3 separate regions of the Homo sapiens genome follow, and regions 1 and 2 are each linked to region 3. Evidence: promoter capture Hi-C in 16 types of primary human blood cells and fetal thymus (Javierre and others, 2016). All regions are on one chromosome and are shown on one strand. Each heading gives the region's core, a stretch centred on a gene start or on the middle of the fragment in contact. The rest is flanking DNA. Distances are from core to core; before and after follow the strand shown. Region 1 overlaps RASSF6 (Ras association domain family member 6). Region 2 overlaps ANKRD17-DT (ANKRD17 divergent transcript). Region 3 holds the start of CXCL2 (C-X-C motif chemokine ligand 2).

The links. The method cuts DNA at HindIII sites, captures the fragments that hold promoters and counts their contacts. A CHiCAGO score of 5 or more calls a contact.
Region 1: a fragment that was not itself captured here is called in contact with the fragment with the promoter of CXCL2 in region 3 in 3 of 17 cell types (fetal thymus, neutrophils and megakaryocytes); the score reaches 10.9 in fetal thymus.
Region 2: a contact is called between a fragment that was not itself captured here and the fragment with the promoter of CXCL2 in region 3, in 1 of 17 cell types (fetal thymus). The highest score is 5.2, in fetal thymus.

The regions. Positions count from the first base shown.
Region 1 is chr4:73,569,957-73,573,343 of GRCh38, forward strand. RASSF6 (Ras association domain family member 6) reads right to left here. Exons shown (of 11, transcript NM_177532.5): 11 at 1,594-3,387. Among named protein-coding and RNA genes, the nearest start is that of RASSF6, 49 kb to the right of the region's middle. The HindIII fragment of the contact is 2,602 bases long and covers 41-2,642 here.
Region 2 is chr4:73,346,524-73,349,576 of GRCh38, forward strand. All of the region lies in intron 3 of ANKRD17-DT (ANKRD17 divergent transcript), which reads left to right. Among named protein-coding and RNA genes, the nearest start is that of ALB, 56 kb to the right of the region's middle. The HindIII fragment of the contact is 8,702 bases long and covers 1-3,053 here.
Region 3 is chr4:74,097,662-74,101,107 of GRCh38, forward strand. CXCL2 (C-X-C motif chemokine ligand 2) reads right to left here and starts at 1,534. Exons shown (of 4, transcript NM_002089.4): 1 at 1,360-1,534; 2 at 1,138-1,261; 3 at 940-1,023; 4 at 1-110. The coding sequence starts at 1,459. The coding sequence ends at 95. The HindIII fragment of the contact is 3,135 bases long and covers 996-3,446 here.

The DNA of each region.
Region 1 (3,387 bases), core at 92-2,591, 530 kb before region 3:
ATGAAATAAGCTTCATAATAAAGTTACCTTCCTAATCATAAGCTTCATAATAAAGTTACCTTCCTAAAGGTTTCACCTTTAATCTTTACCCTAAATATGTGATGCTGTATTGGCACCAATACAATATAATGCACTTAAATTAATTTGAGCTTGAAGTGATTATTTGTGATAGTACTTTTTTTCTTTGGAAATCTTTCTGCAAAAGACATAAAGAACTGATGGGTATCATTTGGACTTGTTTTTATTTTTCCAGATATTTTTGTATAAAAGATAAAGTAAAACTAAGTGCTTAAATAAATGAATTATTTTGATTAGAGAACTATAAAAAAATTAATTATCATTCTAATACCCTTTCCTTGAGTTTAATTATTTTTCCTCACTTCAGTGACTTCAACACATTCATATGCATTAGTGAATTAGATCCAATAAACATTTGCTGAGTACCTAATGCATTCAATACACTGTGCTAGATACTACAAGGAATAATACAAATATGAATATGATTTCACCAGATCACTAATGCATTTATACAAGATATAAGCACATAAAGAATTATAATAAAAGGCAAATTTCAAAATTCTGGTGTCACAAGAGCAGAGCTAACTGAAACTGTGGTACACAGGAGCTTGAGATCACACATTGTTACAGAGACCAGGAAAGGTAATGGAAGAAGGGACCCTAACCAGGGACTAGAAAATGGGAATGTTTCAACAGAAAGAGATGTGCTAAAGTGTGCAGTGTTTCAGGGAAGGCTGAGTGATTTAGTTTGGCTGGTTTTAAGACAAAAATGACATAGCTGTGGGCAGTAAGTCTTAGTAGAAGATAAGGCTACGATGGTGGTTGGGGAATATACTGAAGTTTAATTATAACATAGCTAATATTTATCACATTCTTATGTGCAAAGTGCCAGGCTTTACATGTGCTATTCTTGTAACTCCCCCAACTGTCCAATGAAGTAGGTACTATTATTCCACTTAAAAATGAGGACACATTTTAGAATGGCAGATTCGGGAAGCATAGTTCGGGGGAAGCCACAGATTATGGTGGTTAACTGTATGGCTTCTGGAGCCATAAGTTTAAATCCTACCTATTTCTTCTACTAAAAACCTTGGCAAATCTCCTAACTGCTCCATGGCTTACTTTCTTTATCTGTAGCATGAGGTTGAAAGAATAATTTCCTTATGGAATTGTAATGAATATTAAACGTAGTGCCCAGCAAATAAGTTGTTATTAGTTTGAACAATATGAAATCATTGCCTTTGTAGGTCAAATATTGGCAATTTCAAATGGCTCAATCTAATAGGTATTAGATGTTATTAATTTAGAAGACAAATGAATGTCATTGAAAGGTTTTGCCCTCTGTAACTACATCCTATTTCTTGTTCTTTCCCATATATATGCCTCCACCTAATAGTTATACCTGCTGTCTTTATCACTTCATCAATTGCATTGCAAGGGGCTTCTTTCCCCTTCAGTTTCAAAAACCAATCTAAATAGCCCTAAACCAAATTAAACAGTAATGACACCTAACTGAATATTTCATAGTAGAGCCAAGAGATAATAAAATATACCACTATATCAGGGAAAAACATATATATATATATAATGTTTAATATTTTTTCAGCTATGGGACCAGACTTGTAATAAGTAATACATACATATGGGGAATTTTATAAAAATATTTCAGATAATTCCTTCACTCATTCATTTATTCTTTCATTCACTTATTTATTCAATCAATTTTTATTGAGCACATCCTACGCACAAGACACAATATTAGGTACAGAAAAGCTATAAAGATAAATGTGACACATTCTTTACCATTAATAATAATATATATTATCTAAAATTTAATTTGAGCTAATATATAACTGACAATGAAATATTTGGACCACCTAAAACAAGGATAAATTATTCTGTGACAAGTTTATATTCTTGCATTATGCAAAAATGATTCGAAAATAAACTATTTTTTTCCCAGAAATTGTATGAGCTATACATTGCTATGTAACAAATTGCCCCAAATTTAGCGGCGTACTACAACAAACACTTCTTATCTCATACAGTTTCTGAGGATGAGGAATCCAGAATGGTTTCCTTGGGTTTTCTGGCTGAAGGTCTCTCATGAAATTACGGTCAAGCTATTAGACAGGGCTGCAGTCATCTGAAGGCTTGACTGAGGCTGGAAGATCTACTTCTAAAATGGCTGTTGACAGGAGGCCTCAATTCCCTGCTGGCATTTGATAGAAGGTCTCAGTTCTTCATCATGTAGGTCTTTCCAGGGCTGCTCAGGACATGGCAGTTGACTTCCCCCAGAGCAAGTGGTCCAAGAGAGAGCAAGGAGGAAGCCACAGTGACTTTTATGACCTACTTCAAAGTCTCACAGTCTCTTCCATTTTCCTGTATTAAAAGTAAGTCCCTAATTGCTAAAAGAGTACATTTTTAAATGTTCTCACCACAAAGAAATTATAAGAGGTTATGGATATGTTAATTAGCTTGATTTAATAATTCCATAATGTATACATATATAATAATATAATATTGTACCCCATAAATACATACAATTATTATTTGTCAATTAAAAATAAAATAAAAAGACGTAAGTCACTAAGTCCAGCCCATTTTCAGGATGAGGAAGATTAAGCTTCATCTCTTCAAAGGAGAAGAATCAGACTTTATGGATATAAAACTACCACAGAAGTGATGTTAATGTCTCATTTGAATAATTGATTTGAAATTTTTTGCATTTGGTAGAACTCTGTGCTTGCATGTGCTTGTTACTTTTTTGTTCATAAGTTTTAAATAATAACTTTACTATTTCCTGATGTAAAAAGTAACAAATATAAACTATAGAACACTTAATACAGATAGGGAAGTTAGAAAAACATGAATCACTCATAATTCTACAATGCAGATATAGCCATTTTTAACATGTTTTTATTTCTTGTGTGTATATATATGCAAATATTAGTGTTCACACACACAAATACATATATATATACACACACATACATATATAATATATATGCCTTAAGTACATAATAAATATTTTGGAACATGTGTATGTGTATATTCTTATTTAGATATATAAGAATTTACCCCTGTAATTAAAATTACTTGGAAACAGAATTTTAATGGCTACATAACAATATACAAATAAATGTTTATTTCCCTCTTTTTTTTTTTTTAGAGACGGAGTCTTGCTCTGTCGTCCAGGCTGGAGAGCAGTGGCGCCATCTCGGCTCATGCAACCTCCGCCTCCCGGGTTCAAGCGATTCTCCTGCCTCAGCCTCCCGAGTAGCTGGCATTATAGGTGCCTGCCATTGCACCCGGCTCATTTTTTGTATTTTTAGTAGAGGCAGGGTTTCACCATGTTGGCCAGGCTGG
Region 2 (3,053 bases), core at 94-2,593, 750 kb before region 3:
TTACAATAGCAACACTTTTTGTAAGACTTTAAGTAATACTTTAAAAAAAACTGTGGGCTAGGCGTGGTGGCTCACGCCTGTAATCCCAGCACTTCGGGAGGCCGAGGCGGGCGGATCACCTGAGGTCAGGAGTTTGAGACCTGCCTGACCAATATGGCGAAACCCTGTCTCTACTAAAACTACAAAACATTAGCTGGGAGTGGTGGTGCGTGCCTGTAATCCCAGCTACTTGGGAGGCTGAGGCAGGGGAATCACTTGAACCCGGGAGGCGGAGGTTGCAGTGAGCCAAGATCGTGCCATTGCACTACAGCCTGGGCAACAAGAGTGAAACCCCCTCTCAAAACAAAACAAAACAAAACAAAACAAAAACAAACAAAAAAGAACAACAAAAAACCTGTGGCATTATTATTACTGTTTTACAAAAGATTAGTTATTTGAATACATGAATTTTAGAAAATTCGCTTGCAGATCCTTAGAAGGGGTAGATATTATCTGGACAAGCCTATTGCACTGCACAATTTCCTAATAGATAATTAGTATATACATTTTATGGTTAATTAAAGCTAATATTTCTGAATAACTCTGAGCCTTTCTTTTGAATAGTCTGTGGTATTTTTCAACTTATTTTCTTCTTTTTATTACTTTCTTTTTGAACTTGCTGCTTTTCTCTCCAATTCTAATTTCCATTAAACTTGTGCAACTGAATTAGGTCATTTTAATATTGCTGCTAATAAGACACTTTTCAAATTAACATTCTAGTTCTCTTTGGATGGTTAGCTACTGATTCAAAACCAATAATGTTAAAATAACATTAATTAATGCAGTCCTTAACTTTGCCTAACAGCAATGTGATGTGAGAGAGAAACATGCTCTCCAGGTTTTGCATCTGACAACAGGCTCAGATAGGTTAAGAAACTGTTCAAATTGCAGAGCAATTTAGAGCAGAAGAGAGATTAGAATTCAAGTTCTCTTATTCCCTACTATGTTTGTATACCCAACATTATTTTGTCATCATTTAAATAGTGTTACAGAGCATTCCCACATACTCCAGAGAGGAACAAAGATTTACATATTCCAAAGTGTTAGGTCTCTCTGTCAAAATGTATTTGCATCATTTGTCTTTTGAAGTCCTTCATAAAATGTGTTTAGCAGAAACATTTCTTTAACTTTGTTGTAAAAAGCCATCTGGAACTCTTGGTATACAGTTGTGTAACTGAGTAAACATTGGAAATAATTTGTAATTTGAGACCACCAGATGGAAGAAAAAGATCAGAAAATTACATTAAGAAAATCTATAGGATCTATTTTTGTCTGTTTTAAAAACACTATTTCTCTAGAGGATTGCTATAGCTACATTATAGACTATCTGGTAACTTCAAGGGGGAAAATTGTTGGTTCAGTTTTACAGATGTTATCACATTACAATGTTTTTTCTTCTAGTTTATACCCACACCCCATTATATCTATTTTTTAAAAATATAATTATATATACAGTGAATATATTCTGATTCTTTACTATGATAACGTAAGCACTATATTTTCAACTAGAAAATTCAAAAGAAAAAGTTAAATTTTGAAATACTTTTAAAAATAATAAAAATGTGAGTCAATTATAAATCTGTCACTAAATAAGGACAGTTTTAACTGTGAAAGACTTTTCAGTTGTTGAACTAAAGAAAGAAAATAATTATAAGATAATATTTACTTTTCCAAATGAAAAAAGCATTTTTTTAATGCAAAGCATTTAACTATGAAAACCATGAATCTTTAAATTTTATCTATGTATATATTTTAAAGACAGGGTCTCACTCTGTCACCTAGGCTGGAATGCAGTGGCTGTTCATAGTTCACTGAAGCTCCAACTTCTGGGCTTAAGCAATCCTCTTGCCTCAAACTCCCAAGTAGCTGGGACCTACAGAATAGGACAAAATATTCACAAACTATGCATCCAACAAAGGGTCTAATATCCAGAATCTAGAAGGAACTTAATTCAACAAGCAAAAGAAGACATGAACAGACACTTCTCAAAAGAAGACATGGAAGTGTCCAACAAATGTATGAAAAAATGCTCAACATCACTAATCACCAGAGACATGCAAATCAAAAAACCACAATGAAATACCATCTCACACCAGTCAAAATAGCTATTACTAAGAAGTCAAAAAATAACAGATGCTGGTGAGACTGCAGAGAAAAGGGAATGTTTATACACTGTTGGTGGGAATGTCAATCAGTTCAGCCACTGTGGAAAACAATTTGGAGATTTCTGATAGGACTAGAAATTGAACTACCATTTGACCCAGCAATCTCATGACTGGGTATATTCTCAAAGAAAAGCAAATTATTCTACCAAAAAGACACATGTATTCATATGTTCATCACAGCACTATTTACAATAGCAAAGAGATAGAGTCAACCTAGGTGTCCATCAATGGTGGACTGGATAAAGAAAATGTACATACATATACACCATAGAATACTGTGCAGACATGGAAAAGGACAAAATTATGTCCTTTGCAGAAACATGGATACAGCTGGAGGCCACTATCCTAAGTGAATTATTGTAGGAGCAGGAAACTGAATAGTATATACTCTCACTTATAAGTAGGAGCTAAACACTGGGTACTCATGGACATAAAGATGGCAACAATAGACACTGGAGACTACTAGAGGGGGGAATAAGAGAAAAGAGCAAGGGTCTGAAAAACTACCTATGGGTACCATGCTCACAAGCTGGGTCATGGGATTAATCATACTCTAAACCTCAGCGTTATGCAATATACTCATGTAACAAAACTGCACATGTGCCCCCGAATCTAAAATAAAAGTGGAAATTATTTTTAAAAAAAGTCCAGCAGAAAAAGGTGAGTTATAGATGAAACAATTATATGCATCTGTATGATGCATATTTAAAAATTTTTCTTTACTATTGTGTAGTTTTGCAAATTTTAAATAAAAAGTAAAAAAAAAAAAAAAATACAGTGGTGCCACTCCCAACTACCAAAAAGGATTTCTTATAATAATCTTGAAATCTAGTCTTAGTGGAGAAAGAA
Region 3 (3,446 bases), core at 284-2,783:
CCTCTGCAGCTGTGTCTCTCTTTCCTCTTCTGTTCCTGTAAGGGCAGGGCCTCCTTCAGGAACAGCCACCAATAAGCTTCCTCCTTCCTTCTGGTCAGTTGGATTTGCCACTGTAATGAGAAAATGGGTGCCCTGAGTAGGTGCTCAGGAAAGCTGACTGCACAACAGTCTTCTCCTGTCCTGTTTCCCCAGGCTCTAGAGTTTTCTGAATGCAGTTTCCCCAGCCTGGCACCCAAGTGGGTACTGCCTGTGACAGCTGTGCTGTGTGGCAAGGACCTCTAGGCTTGGGATGCTCTTTTAGGAATGGGGGTGACGTGGGGTGGAGGAGTGGCAGTCTACACTGTTTTACTGGCTAAAACAGCCAGAGCCTATTGCTCTTTGTCATACTGGGCCTCACTTGAGCCTCAAAGCAACCTCATGATGTAGCTACCATTATTTTCCCTGTTTTGCTGAGTCTCAGATAAACTAAATAATATTGTCTCTGAGTGACATGGCTAATAGGTGGTGGCAACCAGTTATATACCCAGTGCAATATTATTGTGAAATCTCTGCACTTCAACCCTAAACTTTTACAAAAAACCAGGGGGTCTGCTTTTCAGGTCTGAAAGTCAGTAGGAACTAGGGGAAATGAAGCTTGTGTTTTTTAACAGGTGGAAAACACTTCAGCACAACTGGCAAACTCCAATGAGACCTTACATGAAAGCAGTTTTACCTACATTCACTGGCAGGAGGGAAGAACCTGGGTGGTGACCCTGGGCACTGGGAATATCCTCTGGCACCAGAACAGATTAATAACCTTAATGGCAACTTTGTGAAAATAATAATTTTTTCAGTCCTGCAGCTAACCCTGGGTTTTCCTGATTTACTTTTTAGGGGGCAGACGCCAGTATTTCTGACCAACAGCTCCAGTCGCCTGTGTACATGGAAATTATAACTTACTTTTTCAGCATCTTTTCGATGATTTTCTTAACCATGGGCGATGCGGGGTTGAGACAAGCTTTCTGCCCATTCTTGAGTGTGGCTCTGCAGAGAGAAGGGAATCTCGTGAGACAGGAGGTCGGGCTGAGGACAGGGTTTGGGGCAGCGGGAGAGTCGGGGACCCCAGCAGTGGCAGCGGCAGCGATGGGCGAGACTTACATGACTTCGGTTTGGGCGCAGTGGGGTCCGGGGGACTTCACCTTCACACTTTGGATGTTCTTGAGGTGAATTCCCTGCAGGGTCTGCAAGCACTGGCAGCGCAGTTCAGTGGCCAGGGGCGCTCCTAGGGAAGAAGAGACTCGCTGATTGAGCGGGGCTGTCGGCGCGGGGCGCCCACCCCAGCCGCGTCCGGCCCGGGGACCCCAGGGCGCCGGGACCCACCTGCTGCGCGCCGGCTGGCGGCCACCAGGAGCAGGAGCAGCAGCGCCACCCGCAGGAGCCGGGGATTGCTGGGGGCGGCGGAGAGCGTGGCGCGGGCCATGGGGCTCAGCAGGCGGTTCGAGCGGCTGTGCGAGGAGGAGAGCTGGCAAGGAGCTGCCTGTGGCCCGGGCTCTGTGGCTCTCCGAGAACGGCGAACCCCTTTTATGCATGGTTGGGGCTGGAAAGCCCGGAGTCCCGGGCCAGGGAAATTCCCGGAGCTCCAGATCGATCCCGAGTTCGGAAGGAAGGCGATGGCCCCGCCTCTGGGGTGGAGGGGGGTCGGGGCACTCACGAGTGACGTCCGGGTCTGACTGTCTTGCGTAACTCCCGCCAACTGTGGGATGTTCTCTTTCTGCCCCGAATCCCTGGAGCGGGAGCGAGAGCCCGCCGCTCTCAGAGATACCGAGATAACCGCCTGCGAGGAGGCGCTTCGTGAACCCAGTGCAGTGCGTCGTGGGTCAGATCCCTTAGACCCACGTAGGGACCGCGCTACATCCTTACCGGGGGGAGTTACTTCTCTGGAAGACATTTCAGTTGTTGGGATTGAAAGTTAGGGCAAGAACTGCAGCATGTCTTATCTATCCTCTCTCTTTAGTTTGGGTTCTGCAAATTTCATTAATGTTTGAAATAAACGCACGCTTTAACAGTACATGTGTCATCTCAGATGACGCATAAGAGCTTTTGTCTCCTTCCTGGTGTTTTATGATCTTAAAAGCAAATATCACGTGTGTGTGTGTGTGTGTGTGTGTGTGTGTGTGTGTGTGTGTGTGTTTCAACGTAGTGGAGCCAGGTGTTGGGTGCGGGAACAGACCATTGCCAAGGGTCAATTCAGTGTTTATTTTAGTTAACAGTGTTGCAATCCCCCATCCTTTCTCTCTTTGAAATCTTGGAACATCTCGAACTCTAGTAATTCCAGTAGCATCAATTTTTTGTTGTATGGAAGTCTGTGTTTTGATCCATGGAAGTCACTGGGAGCTGCGAGGGGCCTGTTGGGCTCAGGAGGTCTGCCTTTTCTAGTGCTGTCCCTGGGCAGAAAAGGCCATAGACACCACCAGAAAAGGAGCAGGGAATGAGACTCCGCTTGTTTACTACTCTAAGCACAAGCAGACATGTCTGATATATACATACTAGATTGCTAACATAATTGCATTTCCATGCCATATGTATTTACCAGCATCCTGGGATTGGTTCCCTCTAGAGAAACAGCTATCGAGGAAATTTTAGTTCTAGAGGAATGTCAATAAAGCATTTCCAAGCCTGTTTAGCTGATGCCTTCTCACTGGATTACTGACTTTTCATCATCAATTTCAATGACCCCCTCTCTTTAAAAATTAAGCTGTAGGCCTACAATACTCTGTCTTAATTCTTCCTGGTGGATGCAGACTTCAGGGATATGGAGATATTCTGCCACTGCTATGAGAAGGGCTGGGAGTGGCACGAGGATGAAGAAGTGGGACTACCTTAGGAATAGAGTGTTCCCTGGATGCTGCAGCTGTAGAGATCACTTGATAAGGATGTCAGGGCTGAAGTTTCAGCCATACCACTAACTTGCTTCATGACCCTTGGTAATTTATGCTTTATTTGCTCATGTTTCTCCCCTGTAGAAGAGCTTATAATAGTGCCTGCCTCACGGGGTTGTTAGAAGTATTGATTGTTAATATGTGTAAACCATCAGTGCATGTAAAGTGTTATGTAAATATTTGTTAAATAACAAAATAGAAGTGGTGTTTCACAACCTTACTGATATAGGCTGGATGTTTGTGTCTCTTTCAAATTCAGATGATGAAGCCCTGACTCCCTTATGTGCTAATATTAGAAGACAGGACCATGGGAAGTAATTAGGTTTAGGTGAGGTTATGAAGGTATGGCCCCCATGATGGGATAAGTGCCATTACAGCAAGAGATCAGTGAGCTTTCGATCTCTGGCTCTCTCTCCCTTTCTGCATTGTGAGGACACAGCAAGAAGGCCACCATCTGCAAACTGAGAAGAGGGCCCTCACCAAGCATGAAATCTGCCAGGATCTTAATCTTGGACTCCCCAGCCTCCA